4 separate regions of the Homo sapiens genome follow, and regions 1, 3 and 4 are each linked to region 2. The links are contacts of gene promoters, found by promoter capture Hi-C in human tissues and cell types (Jung and others, 2019). All regions are on one chromosome and are shown on one strand. The core of a region is centred on a gene start or on the middle of the fragment in contact, and the rest is flanking DNA. Distances in the headings are between cores, read along the strand shown.

Region 1 (4,921 bases), core at 2,282-4,781, 460 kb before region 2:
CTCAACTTTAAAGGTGAACAATAAACTGGAGATTCTGTTGTGCAGACTTTTTTTCTTCAGAAGATCTGGAGTAAAGTCTGAACTTCTAAATTTCTTTCTTCTTTTTTTTTTCTTTGAGATGGAGTTTTGCTGTTGTTGCCCAGGCTGGAGTGCAATGACACCATCTCGGCTCACTGCAACCTCCGCCTCCTGGGTTCAAGCAATTCTCCTGCCTCAACCTCCCAAGTGGCTGGGATTACAGGCATGTACCACCATGCCCAGCTAATTTTGTATTTTTAGTAAAGACGGGGTTTCTCCATGTTGGTCAGTCTGGTCTCGAACTCCTGACCTCAGGTGATCCGCCCACCTCGCCCTCCCAAAGTGCTGGGATTACAGGTGTGAGCCACCACACCCAGCCAACAAATTTTTATGATGTGCTGATGCACATAGAAGAACACGGCATCACTGCTAAGATATTGCCCCTCAAACAGTAAATTATAATCTGAATGCAACCATAAAGATACATCAGTTTTATACAAAGTTCAAAATACAGATATCTCCCATGTTCTGTTATTTTTAACAGTGATTTTAAGTAGTCTTTCTTTAGCACCCTAGAGAGCAGGTATCTCCTAATAATTTTTTTCAGAACTTTCTGGGTAATAAATGGTATTCTGTTTAAATAAGCATTTTCTTAATCCTGTTCTGCATAGAGTTAATAGAGAAAACAGATGAAACCTCAACATTACATATTCTCCATCTTTACTAGGGACCCCAGCTTTCCCCCAATAGGAATCTTGAGTATCTACATCTCCCCATGTTTAACAGCCACAAAGGGAACATTTTTAGTAGTGCCGATTATAAATTTATGGTAGGAATTCTGCGTGGCATATAAGAAGCCATGATGTAGAGAATGTAGAGAAAGCTCTGGTATATAGTAAAGAAATGTTTTGCAGACAGCCTTGAATATTATAAGAATTTTTTAATGTAGTTAAAACAAACTCCTTAAGAAGGAAAAACACAAATCGAGAAGTAAAGATTTGCAAGTACTAAACACATGGCATTCCATGAAGCAGAGTGCACACAGCTCTTCTTCTGAGACACGTTTAGCTGAAAAAAAGCCATTTTTTCTCTTTCTTTCTCTGAAAATCCTTTTTAGATAACATTCTCTGGACAAGTTATACCTGCATTTTGAGAACGTTCCTTTAAAAATGTCAGCACCACCTTTTTGTCTGCTACCATCACGCACACAAACAGAAGGAAGGTCCTGCAGAAAAAGTCCACCCATTTCTCTGTCCTTTATAACAGAAAGGATTCAGGAACAACGAGCTGCTCTATGAATATAAAAGTATGTTTCTCTTTTCCTGTCCTTAGGTGCCCTCCTCTGCCACAGACACCAGCAATTTCTGCTACAGTAATGGAAATATGAGCCACACTCCCCTGTCCCTACCAAACCCAAACAGAACGGGCCCTGAGACCACCCTTTAGTGCAAAGGTGGCACTTAGCTCTCATGAATGTATATTGAAGCCCTCATACTTGATTCTGGCCTCACCTTAGAGTCACATGAGGCACTTCATTAAAACAACATGGATGCTTCCACCCAGAACAATAAACGAAATCCATGGAAAGGGCATAAGTACAGAGATTTCTGCCATGTAATCCTAATTAGAAGACTGGGCAGAGGCCGGGCGCGGTGGCTCACACTTGTAATCCTGGCACTTTAGGAGGCCGAGGCACATGGATGACCTGAGGTCAGGAGTTCAAGATCAGCCTGGCCAACATGGTGTAACCTCATCTCTACTAAAAACACAAAAAATTAGCCAGGAATGGTGGCGGGTGCCTGTAATCCCAGCTACTCAGGAGGCTGAGGCATAAGAATGGCTTGAACCCAGGAGGCGGAGGTTTCACTGAGCCGAGATTATGCCATTGCACTCCAGACTGGGTGACAGAGTGAGATCCTGTCTCAAAAACAGAAAACAAAACAAAACAAAAAAAACAAGACGGGGCTGATAACCACTTAGCTAAGCACTGCCTCTCAAACTTTAATGAGCTTAAAACTCGTTTGGTAATTTTGGCCCCACTCTACGTAATGTGGATCTGCAAGTTTGAAAAGGGTTCATGAATGCGTGTTTCAAACAAGTTCCCTGTCAATGCTGATGTTGTTCCCCCTGGGCTCATTAGCATTAGTTAGAGAAGCAGGTACAGCACAGAGTCCCTTACACTTAGCACTCTTGTCACAACACAAATACTTCTGGTACAAATAAAACCAATCTCCATCTTAAATTTTTATATTCTTCGCTGGCTCTTTAAAGTTTACAGAACAAACAGAAGGCGGCAATGTCTGAATAAATCTGCCTTTGGAAAATAACATGTACACATATACAAATGCAATGTTTATTAAGCAGGTACTATGTGCTCAAGGATATGTTACAGAGCACTGTGCTGGGAATAACACATTTTGTGATTTAATCCTAATAACACCCTGGAAGTTGATACTAAGTGTTCAATAATTCCCAGGACTTAGATAAAGGGTTCAGCATTTTTATTTCTCCCTCTGTTTCTCTGTCATTGATTTTGTTTTAAAGGTATAGAATAAAAGTTAAATACAGGCAGATGAGAAGAACATAGAAAAAGTTTAATGTAGTTTAGAGAAATTTTTATTGTGTATACATTTACTTGTTTGTGGCTTGTGGAGCAACTGCTAGATTGGCAGAAACAGAAAACAAGGTGCTAAATGGAATGTTTCTGTAAGCACTGGTTTTAATACAAATTCAAAAAATAAGATCCTAAAATAAATAGTTTATTTCTGTCATTTATCTGTTTTTGGGTTTCAGAAAATTGTGAGCACCAGCTCTAGAAAAGCAGCAGGACTCACCAGACAAAACTCCAGTCTTTTTTTTTTTAGATGGAGTCTCGCTCTGTCACCAGGCTGGAGTGCAGTGGCACAATCTTGGCTCAATGCAACCTCCGCCTCCCGGGTTCAAGCGATTCTCCTGCCCCAGCCTCCTGAGCAGCTGGGATTACAGGCATGTGCCACCACGCCCGGCTAATTTTTGTATTTTTAGTAGAGACGGGGTTTCACCATGTTAGTCAGGCTGGTCTCAAACTCTCGACCTCATGATCTGTCTGCCTCGGCCTCCCAAAGTGTTGGGATTACAGGTGTGAGCCACCACACCCAGCCAAAACTCTGATTTTTATAAATCAGTTTTGTGAGGTAAGGCTCCAGAGCGGGGCCAGACATAAATAAGGCCTCCAAAAAACGTGAATCTGAACAGAATTTGGGCAGGGAAAGGACCCTATGTAGAATTATGTTCTCTCTGCCACCAAGGTATTTCCAGTTCTGTTTTTCCTAAGCTTACATAAGAGAATCTTAAATCCCAGAGCTTATGTAACTTTAATCTATTTTTGCCACTGCCCTGTCAATTTTATAACATATACTAATAAGCAATTTAAACAAATTTATTAAAGTTCTTTAGAATAATTATACTAGAAGATAAATATATATTCTTAGCAAAGTAAAGGAAACACAAATAATAACAAATCTTCACTCCATAAATATCTCCTCAGCTGATGGTATCAGAAGTAACAATATAAAACAGTGGCCCCAATTTTTTTTGGACACATCTATTCATTGTACCAACCATATAATGCTTAATTCACCCATGTATCCAGTTGTTAGTCTAGACATGTTCCTGGATAGTAAGGATCATGACTGCTTCATCTGTTTTTTGAATGGCCATATAAAATGAAAACAATTACTTTATCTGTTTGAGTCACCAGACCTCCTATTGCTTTCATCCAAGTATCAGGAAACTTGAGAAACTCTCATCTGGGTACCAACCAAAGTTATCTCTTGTATAAGGGGAGAAAAAAACACAGAATTGCCAGGCATGGTGGCTCACACCTGTGATCCCAGCATTTTGGGAGGCTGAGGTGGGCGGATCACAAGGTCAGGAGTTCAAGACCAGCCTGTGCAATATGGTGAAACCCTGTCTTTATTAAAAATGCAAAAATTAGCCAGGCATGGTGGCAAGTGCCTGTATTCCCAGCTATTTGGGAGGCTGAGGCAGAAGAGTCACTTGAACCCGGGAGGCGGAGGTTGCAGTGAGCCGAGATCGCGCCACTGCACTCCAGCCTGGGCGATAGAGCAATACTCCGTCTAAAAAAAGAAAAAAAACCCTAAAAAAACCACACACACACAGAATGACTCATTTCTCTTACACCAAGCCAGAAGCAGAATTAACCACTCTTGTCAGCCTGACACAATTCTGCCCTGGACATCCTCAAATGTCTCAAAGACGTCTAGGTGATTGTGAGAGGGTTCTTAGTGACCCTGGGCTGATGGCCCAATGATAATCCAGGCTGGAGAGATTCAGGCTGATTCTAAATAGAAAATGGCCTGGTGGAGCTCCAGAACCTAATCACTTGTCCCAATTTGCTAGCTTTTGGGTAAGGAGAAAGACAAGAATACTCTACTCCAGTATCACATTTTACAGGTAGGTATAGTTGTGGTCATGGCTATGGATACATTATGACTTTGATATCTCACTCTTAAAATGCTGATTCTGTCATCAGATTCTATTTATATCTGGAGCCTCTCACATAACTGTGGCAAATCACTGAACAAGATCTGAAAAGCTTAAAGAACCACACTGTCAAAGGGGGCTTTAAGATGTCTATGTTGACAACTCACAATGGAGAAAATGCCTCCTGTTGGTTTTCTGTACATTCTCAACCTAAAGTCTGGCCGTGTCCTGTAAATCCCAGGAAGAGGCCAGACCTTATGTGCAGATTCTAGGTAGGATCAACCACACTCTGCATTCTTGGGTGTTACAGCAAGTGGAGTACAATCAAAGGAGAGATCCCCTCATAGAGGCTGCTCTAGCTCATTCTACGTGATATGACTACCTAAAAGGAAAAAGCTGAGGCAACATGAATATAAGA
Region 2 (4,309 bases), core at 1,475-3,974:
ACCCTCTTTGGTTTTGGCTTAGGCTGGTTTTGTATGTGCCATTTCCATTATATGATGCTACTTTCTTGGGTGTGCCCTATCTGGTGGGTTTTGGGGGAACTCATGTCTCAAGTCATAATAGGAATTTCAGGTCTCATAAAAACATCATGGTTGAAGCATAGGTGTTCTATTTCCAGCAAAGCTCAATAGCAAGCTAACAGTTGCTTCTTGAAAGAGGTATAAGCTTTTCCTCCCTCTGGTGGTTTCTGGGTCCAAATCCCGAAAAGTACCCTCTTCCCATCTTGTTTCTGCCCAAGGCTCCAATTAGCATATTGATCTAGGACAGTTACTTGCAGTTCTACTGGCCCATCCCGTATGGGCCATAGATCCAGGGCCAGTTGCACTGCTTGTTTAGCTTGTTCAAAGGCCATGCTCTCTTTCTCTCCCCAGTGAAAGTCATAGCGTTTTCTAGTGGCTGCATGCAGAGGTTGTAAAATGTTACCCAAGTGGGGAATATGATGTCTCCAGAAACCAAACAAGCCAGTACATTAGTGGTAGGGGTTGCAAAATCTAGTATTTTAGCCTTAGCCTTTGGTAAAATGGACTATTTATTTGCATTCCATAAAATGCCAAGGAATTTTATACTTTGTGCAGGTCCTTGAATTTTACTAGGGTTAATTTCCCATTTTTGAAATAGGAACTGGGTTTTTACCTGCTCGAAGCCCCGGCTGACTAGTTCTTCAGTTTTATCCTGACTGGGCCACCTGGACAGCTGCTTTTTTCAGCGATAGGCTGATAGCTTTGAGCTTTATCAGTCAAGACATTGACTGGCATTGGGCCAGTCTGGAAGTCAGATTAGCATTTTCCTTTTCCGCTTACATTTATCTTGTAGCAACCAGCCCCTATCACGATACATTAACTTATAAGCAGTAAGCAAACACCATCCACTCCGGGAGATCCCTCAGCATCTCCTTTGCTGACTGGAATCCCCCGCAGCACTTCCCGCACAGTCAAAGGTTTAAACTGCACTAATTTAGATTCCCAATTCCCACAAAAACCAGTTCCCCTTGACCATTTAATCACCAAGAGGGAGAACTGGGGGAGTTCCCATCCCAGGATATGGGAAGTCCCTGAGCCCTCCAGCCCTGTCCTTCTAGTCAAAAAGGGGTACACTTTTGTTTTCAAATCCTATTTGTGATGCCAAAAATGTTCTGTGAGGCAAATGTGAGAGGGGAGAAACAAAGACACACACACAATACCATTAAGGGTAAACAACTTTTATCCCACGTAAATGGCAATGCAGACATAATAAAGTAATAATATAATAAGCAAATGATATAATAAGCAAATAAATATAATAAGCAGATTGATGTAATAAGCCAATCTTAATAAGACGAGGAAATGGGAAAAGATATATATATATATATATATATATATATATATATATTTTCCCTCACCAGACTATGGGGGATTCACCACCAGAGAGGGAGGCAACAGCCACAGCTCTAGAGTCAGCCACCCGTCCATCGTACACAGACAAGGAGAGGTCTTATGAAGCTTCAGGGCGGTCTGGGACCTTAGCTCTTTTGTAACGAGTTGTTTGGCATAAGGCCCAGTGATGAGAGCCCTTCACGACTTGCCTCAAGGAACACAAAAAGGTCAACCTTTTTTTGTGATTGTCTATTGTTTTTCAACAACTAATATATAGGAATAGATTGAAATAGAGATTTCTTCAATACAGCGCTGGATGAACACCTCAGGGGCTCACACAACCTGTTCTGGGACTTGGTGACAATTGTTTGTGTCCACATTCAATTGAGTTCAGATTTAATATGTGACTTTTCCTCCACAAATTCCCCTGTCTTGATGAATCGGCTCTGTCTAGGCAAAGGGTAAAATAAACCCCTTGGGCTGTTACACAACCTCCGCCTCCTGGCTTCAAGTGATTCTCCTGCCTCAGCCTCCGGTGTAGCTGGGACTACAGATGTGCACCCCCACACCCAGGTAACTTTTTATATTATTAGTTATTATTATTATTTATTAGTTATTATTAGAGATGGGGTTTCACCATGTTGGCTAGGCTTGTCTTGAACTCCTGACCTCAAGTGATCTGCTCACCTTGGCCTCCCAAAGTGTTGGAATTACCAGCGTGAACTATCCGTGCCTGCCTCTAAATGATTTCTATCTCCTATAGCTGTTGGAAATTAAAGATTGTTTCAAATTGAAAAAATAAAAAGAATGTGGACAAAAATAAAATATAAATAGTTTTTTAAAATTACGAGATATTACAAAATATATATGTAAATCTGGAGTGCTCAAAAATGACAAATTTGATTTATTTATAAGGTTTTATTAAAATTAGCTTTAATAGATTTTACCATTACCAAAGTAAAAGTTGATTTTCTGTTGAACAAAAATTTTATGTATTATTAATGACAGCAAAATACTTCTGTTCACCTTTTTAATACATTCAACAAGAAAGAGAGTAAACAAGAGATAAAATATTCCCATGCTCTGGGGTGGGCCTGGCTCAGCTCAGGGAGGAAGCACTGTTTGAAAAGCCAGCTGCTTAGGCTGGCACTCTTTGTTCACTTAACCCAGCATCTGATCATATCTTCTGTCACTCAGGGCCTGAGGGGGCGGGGATTTAAGCATTATCCAATCAGGGACGCTGGGCTGGAAGCCGTCCAATCAGGCACGCAGCCAGAGTGAAGCGGAAGGCTTCCGGGTTTTGCGGGGCCTTTGTCTCTGCAGCCGGAGCTCCAGGTCTTGTCTTCACTGCTGTGTGTCCTCTGCTCCTAGAGGCCCAGCCTCTGTGGCCCTGTGTCCTGCAGGTATTGGGAGATCCACAGCTAAGACGCCCGGGAGCCCCTGGAAGCCTAGAAATGGTGAGAGTGCCGGTCCGACATCCCGAGAGAGGGGGATAGGCTGGTTGGAACCGGTGGGAAGTGGCTGTGGCGGGACTCAGGCCTCTGCGCAGTCAGCTCCACAATCTGCACCCTGAGTTCTCCTTGCCCAGCTCGGCCTCAGTCCCGTTCAGCCATAATTTGGCGGCTACGCTGACAGCCGGGCCCCCTGGCGTCCTGTGTCTTCCCTGCGTAGTGACTGCTCTGGCCTGGAGCGCTCCGTGGGCAGCTCTGCAACCGCAGCCTCCCGTCTCTCCCAGAATGTGCAGGGACCACCAGAGGGTCGTCAGGGGAGAATCCTGACTCGGGGTGCAGGTTCATGAATGGGAAGAGCTTTGGTCCGTGGAGTTCACAGTTTCTGTTTTCTGCTATTCAAAATTTATGGGGCCGGGCGCAGTCGTTCACGCCTGTAATCCCAGCACTTTGGGAGGCCGAGGCAGGCGGATAACTTGAGGTCAGGACTTCAAGATAAGCCTGGCCCAAATGGGGAAACCCCATGTCTACTAAAAATGCAAAAATTAGCTGGGTGTGATGACAGATGTCTGTAATCACAGCTTCTCGGGAGGCAGAAGTGAGAGAATCGCTTGAACTCCGGAGGTGGATGTTGCAGTGAGCTGAGATCTTGCCACTGCACTCCAGCCTGCGCGACAGTGAGACTCCGTCTCAAAAAAAAAAAAAAAATTCCTGGTTATGTAATTACAGTTTAATTGGCAGTTTATAGTTGCTTAAGCCTGAATTTTGTTTCCCCTAATGTAGTAATTTCCCAAAAAATGCACATGAGCTTAGATTTTTTTTTTTTTGAGGTAGAAATCCAGGGACTAGAGCTTCTTCAGTCTAATTGCCTGCCACTTAATTATTTTCACACGCCACAGCGGACTGATTTTCCCTGGCATTTTCCACATGTGTCTCAAGCAAGGCCTCAAGTGTACCCCATGTTCCTCAATTTATTATTTTTATTTTTTTTTTTTTGAGACGGAGTCTCGCTCTGTCGCCAGAGCTGGAGTGCAGTGTCAGATCTCGGCTCACTGCAACCTCCGCCTCTCAGGTTCAAGCATTCTTCTGCTTCAGCCTCTGGAGTAGTTGGGGCTATGGGCACGCGACACCACGCCCAGCTAATTTTTGTATTTTTAGTAGAGATGGAGTTTCAGTATGTTAGCCAGGAATGCTAGTTACCAAGGAAAAAAATAGGGAAAATCTCTCTTCCATTTTGGCTGTAGACAATGAATATATTTCCACAGGAAAATGTGGTAGATAATTGATGAGTTACATAGATTCGTCAACACATTAGTTCCTCTTTTTGCAGGGGAAATTTGTGACAGTGAATATCTCAGTTCTATATCCTGTTGAGTTCTGAGTTAAATGCTAAATTATATGTGATGAAACATGGTACCTTCTAGAAGTGTTCCCATATGACTAATTTTTTA
Region 3 (4,443 bases), core at 1,319-3,818, 480 kb before region 2:
CAGTTTCACCATGTTGGCCAGGCTGGTCTCAAACTCCTGACCTCAGGTGATCTATCCATCTCAGCCTCCCAAAGTGTTGGGATTACAGGTGTGAGCCACCATGCTTGGCCTTATTTTTTTAACTTTAAGATATTTTATGCCCCATCTGGGAGGGAGGTGGGGGGCAGCCCCTGCCCGGCCAGCCACCCCGTCCAGGAGGGAGGTTGGGGCCAGCACCCGCCCGGCCAGCCGCCCCGTCCGGGAGGTGGGGGGCGCCTCTGCCCGGCCGCCCCTTCTGGGAAGTGAGGAGCCCCTCTGCCCAGCCGCCACCCCGTCTGGGAGGTGTACCCAACAGCTCATTGAGAACGGGCCATGATGACGATGGCGGTTTTGTCGAATAGAAAAGGGGGGAATGTGGGGAAAAGATAGAGAAATCAGATTGTTGCTGTGTCTGTGTAGAAAGAAGTAGACATAGGAGACTCCATTTTGTTCTGTACTAAGAAAAATTCTTCTGCCTTGGGATGCTGTTAATCTATAACCTTACCCCCAACCCCATGCTCTCTAAAACATGTACTGTGTCCACTCAGGGTTAAATGGATTAAGGGCGGTGCAAGATGTGCTTTGTTAAACAGATGCTTGAAGGCAGCATGCTCGTTAAGAGTCATCACCACTCCCTAATCTCAAGTACCCAGGGACACAAACACTGCGGAAGGCCGCAGGGTCCTCTGCCTAGGAAAACCAGAGACCCTTGTTCACTTGTTTATCTGCTTACCTTCCCTCCACTATTGTCCTATGACCCTGCCAAATCCCCCTCTGCGAGAAACACCCAGGAATGATCAATAAATACTAAAAAAAAAAAAAAAAAAAAAAAAAAAAAAAAGATGTTTTATGTAATCTCCATTTTAAGATGATTACATTATACTTCAAGGTGATTACATAATATTTATAAAAAGTATGCAAAAAATGAAAAAATAATCAAAGCATGTAACGATAAAGTTAACAAAAATAAAGGTAGTAAAACAGGAAATGAGAAAAAACTTATCTACAAGAAATACATAAAACAGGAACAATGAGGTGGTTTCTGCAGATCAGCAGACTTAGTCTTTCCCCCTGCTGGCTCTGAGCAATCCAGGCAGTACAGATGTATGGAATTTCCCTCAGTGCAGCACAGCCACTCCACCAAGGTGCAGCCAGAGTGCTTTCTTAAGTGGTTCCCAGATCTCATGCATCCTGACTGGGTGAGACCCCCACAACAGACATCGTCAGACAACTTATAAAGTAGTGTTCCCACTGTCATCAGATCATTCCCCTTCTGGGACAAAGACCCCAGAGGAAGGAGCAAGCAGTCCTCTCTGCTATTCTGCAGGCTCCACTGGTTGACACCTCCAGGTGTGAGAGAAACCCAGGCAAATAGGGTCTGAAGTAGATCCCAAGCAAATCACAACAGTGCTACAGAAAAGTGGCCTGATGGTTAGAAAAACAAACAGAAAGCAACAACAAAAACAGCATGAACAAAAAAATCCTCACAAGCATCCCATCCAAAGGTCAGCAGCCTCAAAGATCGAAGCTAGAAAAACTCACAAAGATGAAAAGAATAAACCAAAAAATGCTGAAAACTTAAAAAGCCAGAGTGCCTCCTTTCCTCCAAATGATCCCAGCATATCTCCAGGAAGGGCACAGAACTGGGCGGTGGCTAAGGTGGATAAATTGACAAAAGTAGGCTTCAGAAGGTGGGTAATGATGAACTTTGCTGAGCTAATGGAGTATGTTCTAACCCAATGCAAAGAAGCTAAGAACCATGAAAAACATTACAGGAGCTGTTAACCAAAACAACCAATTTAGAGAGGAACATAAATGACCTGATGGAACTGAAAAACACAGCATCAGAACTTCACAACGCAACCACAAGTATCAATAACTGAGTAGACGAAGCAAGGAAAGAACTTCAGAGCTTGAAGACAATCTTGCTGAAATAAAACAGGCAGACAAGATTGAAGAAAAAAGAATAAACGGGAATGAGAGAAATCTCTGAGGTCTATGAGATTATGTAAAAAGACCGAACCTATGACTGACTGGGGTACCTTAAATAGATAGGGAGAATGGAACCAAGTTAGAAAACATCCTTCAGGATATCATCCAGAAGAACTTTTCCAACCTAACAAGAAAGGCCAACATTCAAATTCAGAAAATCCAGAAAACCCCAGTAAGATACTCCATGAGAAGATCATCCCCAAGACACATAATAATCAGATTCTTCAAGATTGAAATTCAGGAATAAATGATAAGGCAGCCAGAGAGAAACGCCACATCACCTATAGACAAAAGTTCATCAGACTGACAACAGACCTTTAAGCAGAAACCCTACAAGCCGTAAGAGATTGGGGGCCACTACTCAACATTCTTAAAGAAAAGAATTTCCAACCAAGAATATCCAGGAAAACTAAGCTTCATAAGTAAAGGAGGAATAAAATCATTTTCAGACAAGTAAACGCTGAAGGAATTCATCACCACCAGGCCTGCCTTGCAAGAGCTCCTGAAAGAAGCACTAAACATGGAAAGAAAAAAACCATTACTAGCCACTACAAAAACACACTGAAGTACAAAGACCAATGACACTATGAAAAAACTACATCAAAGAGTCTTCAAAATAACCAGATAGCACCATGAAAACATAATCAAATTCACACATAGCAATATTAACCTTAAACTTTTTTTTTTTTTTTTTTTGAGATGGAGTCTTGTTCTGTCACCCAGGCTGGAGTGCAGTGCACAATCTTGACTAACTGCAACATCTGCCTCCCAGGTTCAAGCAATTCTGCCTCAGCTTCCTGAGCAGCTGGGATTACAGATGAGCACTACCATGACAGGCTAATTTTTATATTTTTAGTAGAGGCGGGGTTTCACCATGTTGGCCAGGCTGGTCATGAACTCCTGACCTCAGGTGATTCACCTGCCTCAGCCTCCCAAAGTGCTGGGATTACAGGCATAAGCCACCGTGGCTGGCCTAATCTTAAATTTAAATGGGCTAAATGCCCTCATTAAAAGACACAGAATGTCAAGCTGATTAAAGAGTCAAGACCCATTGGTGTGCCATATTCAAGAAACCCATCTCACATGCAAAGACACACACATGCTTAAAATGAAGGAATGGAGGAAAATTCACCAAGCAAATAAAAGAAGAAAAAAGGAGGAGTTGCAATTGTAGTTTCTGACAAAATAGACTTTAAACCAACAAAGATCAAAACAGAAAAAGAAGGGCATTACATAATGCTAAAGGAATCAATTCAAGGAGGACCCAGATTTATAAAACACATTATTAGAGACCTACAAAGGGACTTAAACAAACTCCCACACAATAATAGTGGGAGACTTTAACACCCTACTGCCAATATTAGACCAACAATTGAGACAGAAAAGTAACAAAGATATTCAGGACTTGAACTCAGCTTTGGGTCAAATGGACCTGATAGATATCTACAGAACTCTCCAGCCAAAAACAACACAATACACATTCTCCTAAGTGTCACATGGCACTTACTTTAAAATTGATCACATAATTGGAAGGAATACTCCTTAGCAAATGCAAAAGAACTGAAATCATAACAGTCTCTCAGACCACAGTGCAATCAAATTGGAACTCAAGAGTAAGAAACTCACTCAAAACCACACAAGTACATGGAAATTGAACAACCTGCTCCTGAATGACTTCTGGGTAAATAATAAAATTAAATCAGAAACCAAGAAATTCTTTGAAACCAATGAGAACAAAGAGACTATGTACTAGAATCTGTAGAATGCAGCTAAAGCAGTGTTAAGGGGAAAATTTATAGCACTACATAGCCACAGCAAAAAGCTGGAAAGATCTCAAAATGACACCCTAACATTACAATTAAAAGAACAAGAGAATCAAGAGCAAACAAACCCCAAAGCTAACAGAAGACAAGACATAAGAAGAATCCAAGTGAAACTGAAAGAGATAGAGACACAAAAAACCCTTCAAAAAACCAATAAATCCAGGAGCTATTTTTTTTGAAAACATTAATAAAATAGAACACTAACTAGAGTAATGGAGAACAAAAGAGAGAAGAAGAAATAGACACAATACAAAATCATAAAGAGGATATCACCACTGACCCCACAGAAATACAAACCATCAGAAAATACTATAAACACCTGTATGCACATAAACTGAAAAAGCTAGAAGAAGTAGATAAATTACTGGACACAAACACCCTCCCAAGACCAAACCAGGAAAAATTTGAATCCTGAATAGACCAATAAGAAGTTCTGGAATTGAGGAAGTAATAAATAGCCTACAAACTAAAAATGCCCAGAGGCAGATGGATTTACAGCTGAATTCTACCAGAGGTACAAAGAGGAGTTGGTACCATTTCTTCTGAAACTATTCCAAATGATAGAAAAAGAGGGACTCCACTCTAACTCATTTTATAAGATCAGCATCAT
Region 4 (4,990 bases), core at 274-2,773, 450 kb before region 2:
CTCAGCCTCCCGAGTAACTGGGACTACAGGTGCCTGCCACCATGCCCGGCTAATTTTTTTTTTTTTTTTTTGTATTTTTAGAAGAGACGGGGTTTCACCGTGTTCGCCAGGATGGTCTCAATCTCCTGACCTTGTGATCCACCCGCCTTGGTCTCCCAAAGTGTACATGAAGTTTGGATTGTCTTCTCAGGATTATATGTTTGAGAGGAAAAAAACGGTCCTAACCTATTTTGGTAGTTAGGACAGTCACCACACACACACACACACACACACACACACACACACACACACATTTAATTTATATTTAACTTAGATTATTATTATGTATTTTTTTGAGATGGAGTTTCACTCTTATTGCCCAGGCTGGACTGCAATGGCACCATCTCAGCTCGCTGCAACCTCTGCCTCCCAGGTTCAAGTGATTCTCCTGCCTCAGCCGCCCAAGTAGCTGGGATTACAGGAGTGCACCACCACACCCAGCTAATTTTGTATTTTTAGTAGAGACAGAGTTTCTCCGTGTTGGTCAGGCTGGTCTTGAACTCCTGACCTCAGGTGATCTGCCCACCTCGGCCTCTGAAAGTGCTGGGATTACAGGCATGAGCCACTGTGCCCCGCCAACTTAGACTATTTTTTATCTCTTCTGTGGCGAGTGATAAAATGCAGTGCTTTTGATAAAGGAAGCTTTAAGAACTCAGGAATGAAAAAAGTCACTGCTGTCTAGGTTCTCTATGAGTTCACACTTAACATTAAATTTATGTCCTCTTAAATATCAAGTTTGTTTCTTCAATTTAGGTTCATAGCACTGATAACTGAGAGGTTATCATAGGTAATCTGACTTGGAACACACAGTTTACTCAAATGGCACATCTAAAAAATTTCAGTACTGGCTGATTTAGTATAAAAATGTGGCAGAGTATTTTCATAATGTATAATTCATTTTTGTTTTGCCTGGATTACTAGTTTTATTTTTTATATATATTTTTTGAGACAGAGTCTCACTCTGTGGCTCAGGCTGGAGTGCAATGGCACAATTTTGGCTCAATGCAACCTCCGCCTCCCAGGTTAAAGTGATTCTCCCCTCAGCCTCCCAAGTAGCTGGGACTACAGGCATGCACCACTATGCCTGGCTAATTTTTGTATATATATATATTTTTTTAAGTCTCTTTTTTTTCCCCATAAGTTACTGGGCTACAGGTGGTATTTGGTTACATTAGTATGTTCTTTAGTGGTGATTTGTGAGATTTTGTTGCACCCATCACCTGAGCAGTAGAGCAGTATACACTGCACCATATTGGTAGTCTCTATCCCTCATCCCCCTCCTACTCTTTCCCCAACATCCCCAAAGTCCATTGCATCATTCTTATGCCTTTGTGTCCTCATAGCTTAGCTCCCACATCTCAGTGAGGACATTCAATGTTTGATTTTCCATTCCTGAGTGACTTCACTTAGAATAATAGTCTCCAATGTTATCCAGGTCACTGCAAATGTTAATTCATTCCTTTTTATGGCTGAGTAGTATTCCATTGTGTGTGTGTGTGTGTGTGTGTGTGTGTGTGTATATGATGATATATATATATGATGTGTATATATATATATGTATATATGATATGATTCTTTCCTTCATCTTAACGTTAGATAACCTGATGACAATGTGATTAGGTGATGATCTTTTTGTGATGAATTTCTCAGGTATTCTTTGTGCTTTTTGTATTTGAATGTCTAGGCCTCTGGCAAAACCAGGTAAGTTTTCTTCAATTATTTCCCCAAATATGTTTTCCAAACTTTTAGATTTTTCTTCTTTTTCAGAAAAACCAATTATTCAGGCTTCTTTAAGGTTTTGTTCATTTTTTTTTGTCTTTGCTGGATTGTGTTAATTTGAAGATCTTGTCTTTGATCTCTGAATTTCTTTCTTCTACTTGTTCAATTCTATTGCTGAGACTTTCCAGAGCATTTTGCATTTTTATAAGTGTGTCCAATATTTCCTGAGGTTCTGATTGTTTTTTCTTTATGCTATTTCCTTGCATATTTATCCCTTATTTTTATTTTATTTACTTATTCATTATTATTTTTTATTATTTTTATTTATTATTATTTTTTGAGATAGAGTTTCACTCTTGTTGCCCAGGCTGGAGTGCAATGGCACAATCTTGGCTCACCACAACCTCTGCCTCCCGGGTTCAAGCGATTCTCCTGCCTCAGCCTCCTGAGTAGCTGGGATTACAGGCATGCTCCACCACACCTGGCTAATTTTGTATTTTTAGTAGAGATAGGGTTTCTTCACGTTGGTCAGGCTAGTCTCGAACTCCCGACCTCAGGTGATCCATCCACCTCAGCCTCCCAGAGTGCTGGGATTACAGGCATGAGCCACCAACCCAGCCTATTTTTAATTTTTTTGAGATGGAGTCTTGCTCTGTCGACCAGGCTAGAGTGCAATGGCGCAATCTTGGCTCACTACAACCTCTGCCTCCCGGGTTCAAGTGATTCTCCTGCCTCAGCCCCCTGAGTAGCTGGGATTAAAGGCTTGCACCACCACGCCTGGCTAATTTTTGTATTTTTACTAGAGACGGGGTTTCACCATGTTGGTCAGGCTGGTCTGGAACTCCTGACCTCGTGATCTGCCCACCTCTGTTGTAGCAGGATGAGACACAGACAAGAACCCCTCAGACACCGAGTTGCAGAAGGAAAGGGCTTTATTCAGCTGGCAGCATTGGAAGACTCACATCTCCAAAAACTGAGCTCCCTGAGTGAGCAATTCCTGTCCCTTTCAAGGGCTTACAACTATAACGGGGTCCGCCTGAAAAGGTCATGATTGATTGAGCAAGCAGAGGGTATGTGACTGGGGGCTGCATGTACCACTAGTCAGAACAGAACAGAACAGGATAGGGATTTTCATGATGCTTTTCCATACAATGTCTGAAATCTATAGATAACACAAGCAGTTAGGTCAGGGGTGGATTTTTAACTAGCAGGCCCAGGGCATGATGCTGGGCTATCTGCCTGTGGATTCCATTTCTGCCTTTCAGTTTTCACTTCTTCTTTCTTTGGAGGCAGAAACTAGGCATAAGACAATATGAGGGGTGGTCTCCTCCCTTTTTCCCCCCGTTTGAGAACCTCTCTCATTAGTGGAAGTTCTCACCTTTATCCTCACTACTCATGTCTTCCTGTAAGACAGATCGATAGTGATTCATATAGTACACTTGTGCTGAAGCATTTTGGTGAACTAAGGTAGCGATGAAGCTTTTTATCATTTGAAGAAGTACATAGCAAACAAGGGAGCAGTAAGCATGTTTTTATTACTATTATAACTCCTACTATAAGAGTTTTAAATCCTCCTAGTGCTGGGAACCATTTTTCAAACATGGCCCCAGGATTAAATCCATGCCACACTTGCGCAGGCACATGTGCCAGTTTTGTCATGTCTCTAACTATGTCTTCAACTACTTGCCCTTGGTCATCTATGTGTAGACAGCAATTAGTAAGGTTAAATTTCCCACAGACCCCTCCTTTAGCTGTTAGCAAGTAGTCTAGGGCTAGTCTATATTTATAGATAGCATTTCTCATCTGGGTTTCTTGCTGGGCTAAAACAGTTGAAGCTCTGCCAGTTTTATTAGTGATTATTTCTAAGACAGCTTGTAATCGTATGATTCAGTTGAGCATATAAATGGGGATTCGGTATCCCCATGAGCTGTCTTGTGCCTAAGTGGCAGGCCCATAGTACTGTATGATTCTTTCAGGGGGCCACTTGTCATCTTTTCAGTCGCCTATAGCTATGCTTCTCTTTTCTCGGGAAGCATAGACCAGGAAACCTAGAAGTTCGCCTGTTTTTATGGGCAGTAGGAAAAAAGATGGGTTATAGCACACATCAGGCTGGTCATTTCGTGGGCTACATACCTTGTATAGAATAGCATTATACAAACAAGTTCCTTTTAGAGTCCTGGTACACTTAAAATAACCATAAAATAATAGGACTGTAGCAAACTTTTGTCCTACCTCAGTGACTTGATGTATATATTGGGAACAGTCCTCAGTCTGAGGAAGGTCAGTTGAAGTCCTTACTGTACAAGTCCAAATTTTCAGGGAAATGAGTCCTGTGATTAATTTCCTCATGCTTTGGTGATGCGGGAACCAGTCAGCTTCCAGGTGTGACTGGAGCAGGGCTTGCCATCTTTTTCAGAGTCACTTTGCAGAGGTTGGCAAAGCTGCTCCCATCCAAGTATAGCTCACAGTCTCCTGATACTCAAGATGGTCTCGGAGGTTGGGCCCACTAGAATAAACTGAGTCTAATACCTCTACACAGTTATGTAGGGCCCAGCCCTACAGGGTCTGTGGGTTTTTTCTCCTCATGTGCGGAGATGAGAGATCATAGAAATAAAGACACAAGACAGAGATAGAAGAAAAGACAGCTGGGCCCGGAGGACCACTACCACCAAGGTGTGGAGACTGGTAGTGGCCCTGAATGCCTGGCCATGCTGTTATTTGTTGGATACAAGACAAGGGGGCAGGGTAAGGAGTGTGAGCCATCTCCAATGATAGGTAAGGTCACACGAGTCACGTGTCCACTGGACAGGGGGCCCTTCCCTGTTTGGCAGCCGAGGTGGAGAGAGAGAGAGGACAGATTACACCACTATTTCTTTTATGCATTTCAAAGACTTTTAGTACTTTCACTAATTCTGCTACTGCTATCTAGAAGGCAGAGCCAGGTATACAGAGTGGAACATGAAAGTGGACCAGGAGCGTGACTATTGAAGCACAGCATCACAGGGAGACGGTTAGGCCTCCAGATGGCTGCAGGCGGGCCTGACTGATGTCAGGCCTTCCACAAGAGGTGGTGGAGCAGAGTCTTCTCTAACTCCCCCGGGGAAAGGGAGACTCCCTTTCCTGGTCTGCTAAGTAATGGGTGCCTTCCCTAGGCACTGATGCTACTGCTAGACCAAGGTCTGCTAGGTAATGGGTGCTGGCATTACTGCTAGACCAGGGAGCCCACTAGTGG

Evidence for each region. Contacts are between HindIII fragments. The study calls those that stand out against the background at their distance.
Region 1: a contact is called between a fragment that was not itself captured here and the fragment with the promoter of ZNF737 in region 2, in 1 of the 25 tissues and cell types used here (bladder).
Region 3: a fragment that was not itself captured here is called in contact with the fragment with the promoter of ZNF737 in region 2 in 1 of the 25 tissues and cell types used here (dorsolateral prefrontal cortex).
Region 4: a fragment that was not itself captured here is called in contact with the fragment with the promoter of ZNF737 in region 2 in 1 of the 25 tissues and cell types used here (dorsolateral prefrontal cortex).

Annotation. Positions count from the first base shown.
Region 1 is chr19:21,027,922-21,032,842 of GRCh38, reverse strand. All of the region lies in intron 2 of ZNF430 (zinc finger protein 430), which reads right to left. Among named protein-coding and RNA genes, the nearest start is that of ZNF430, 9.7 kb to the right of the region's middle. The HindIII fragment of the contact is 6,523 bases long and covers 270-4,921 here.
Region 2 is chr19:20,564,196-20,568,504 of GRCh38, reverse strand. It overlaps ZNF737 (zinc finger protein 737), which reads left to right and starts at 2,724. Exons shown (of 4, transcript NM_001159293.2): 1 at 2,724-2,867. The coding sequence starts at 2,865. All of the region lies in intron 2 of LOC105372316 (a long non-coding RNA gene), which reads right to left. RefSeq lists enhancers at 2,872-2,921, 3,132-3,291. The HindIII fragment of the contact is 4,540 bases long and covers 881-4,309 here.
Region 3 is chr19:21,044,581-21,049,023 of GRCh38, reverse strand. All of the region lies in intron 4 of ZNF430 (zinc finger protein 430), which reads right to left. Among named protein-coding and RNA genes, the nearest start is that of ZNF430, 26 kb to the right of the region's middle. The HindIII fragment of the contact is 4,960 bases long and covers 89-4,443 here.
Region 4 is chr19:21,008,229-21,013,218 of GRCh38, reverse strand. No RefSeq gene overlaps it. Among named protein-coding and RNA genes, the nearest start is that of ZNF430, 9.9 kb to the left of the region's middle. The HindIII fragment of the contact is 6,310 bases long and covers 1-4,678 here.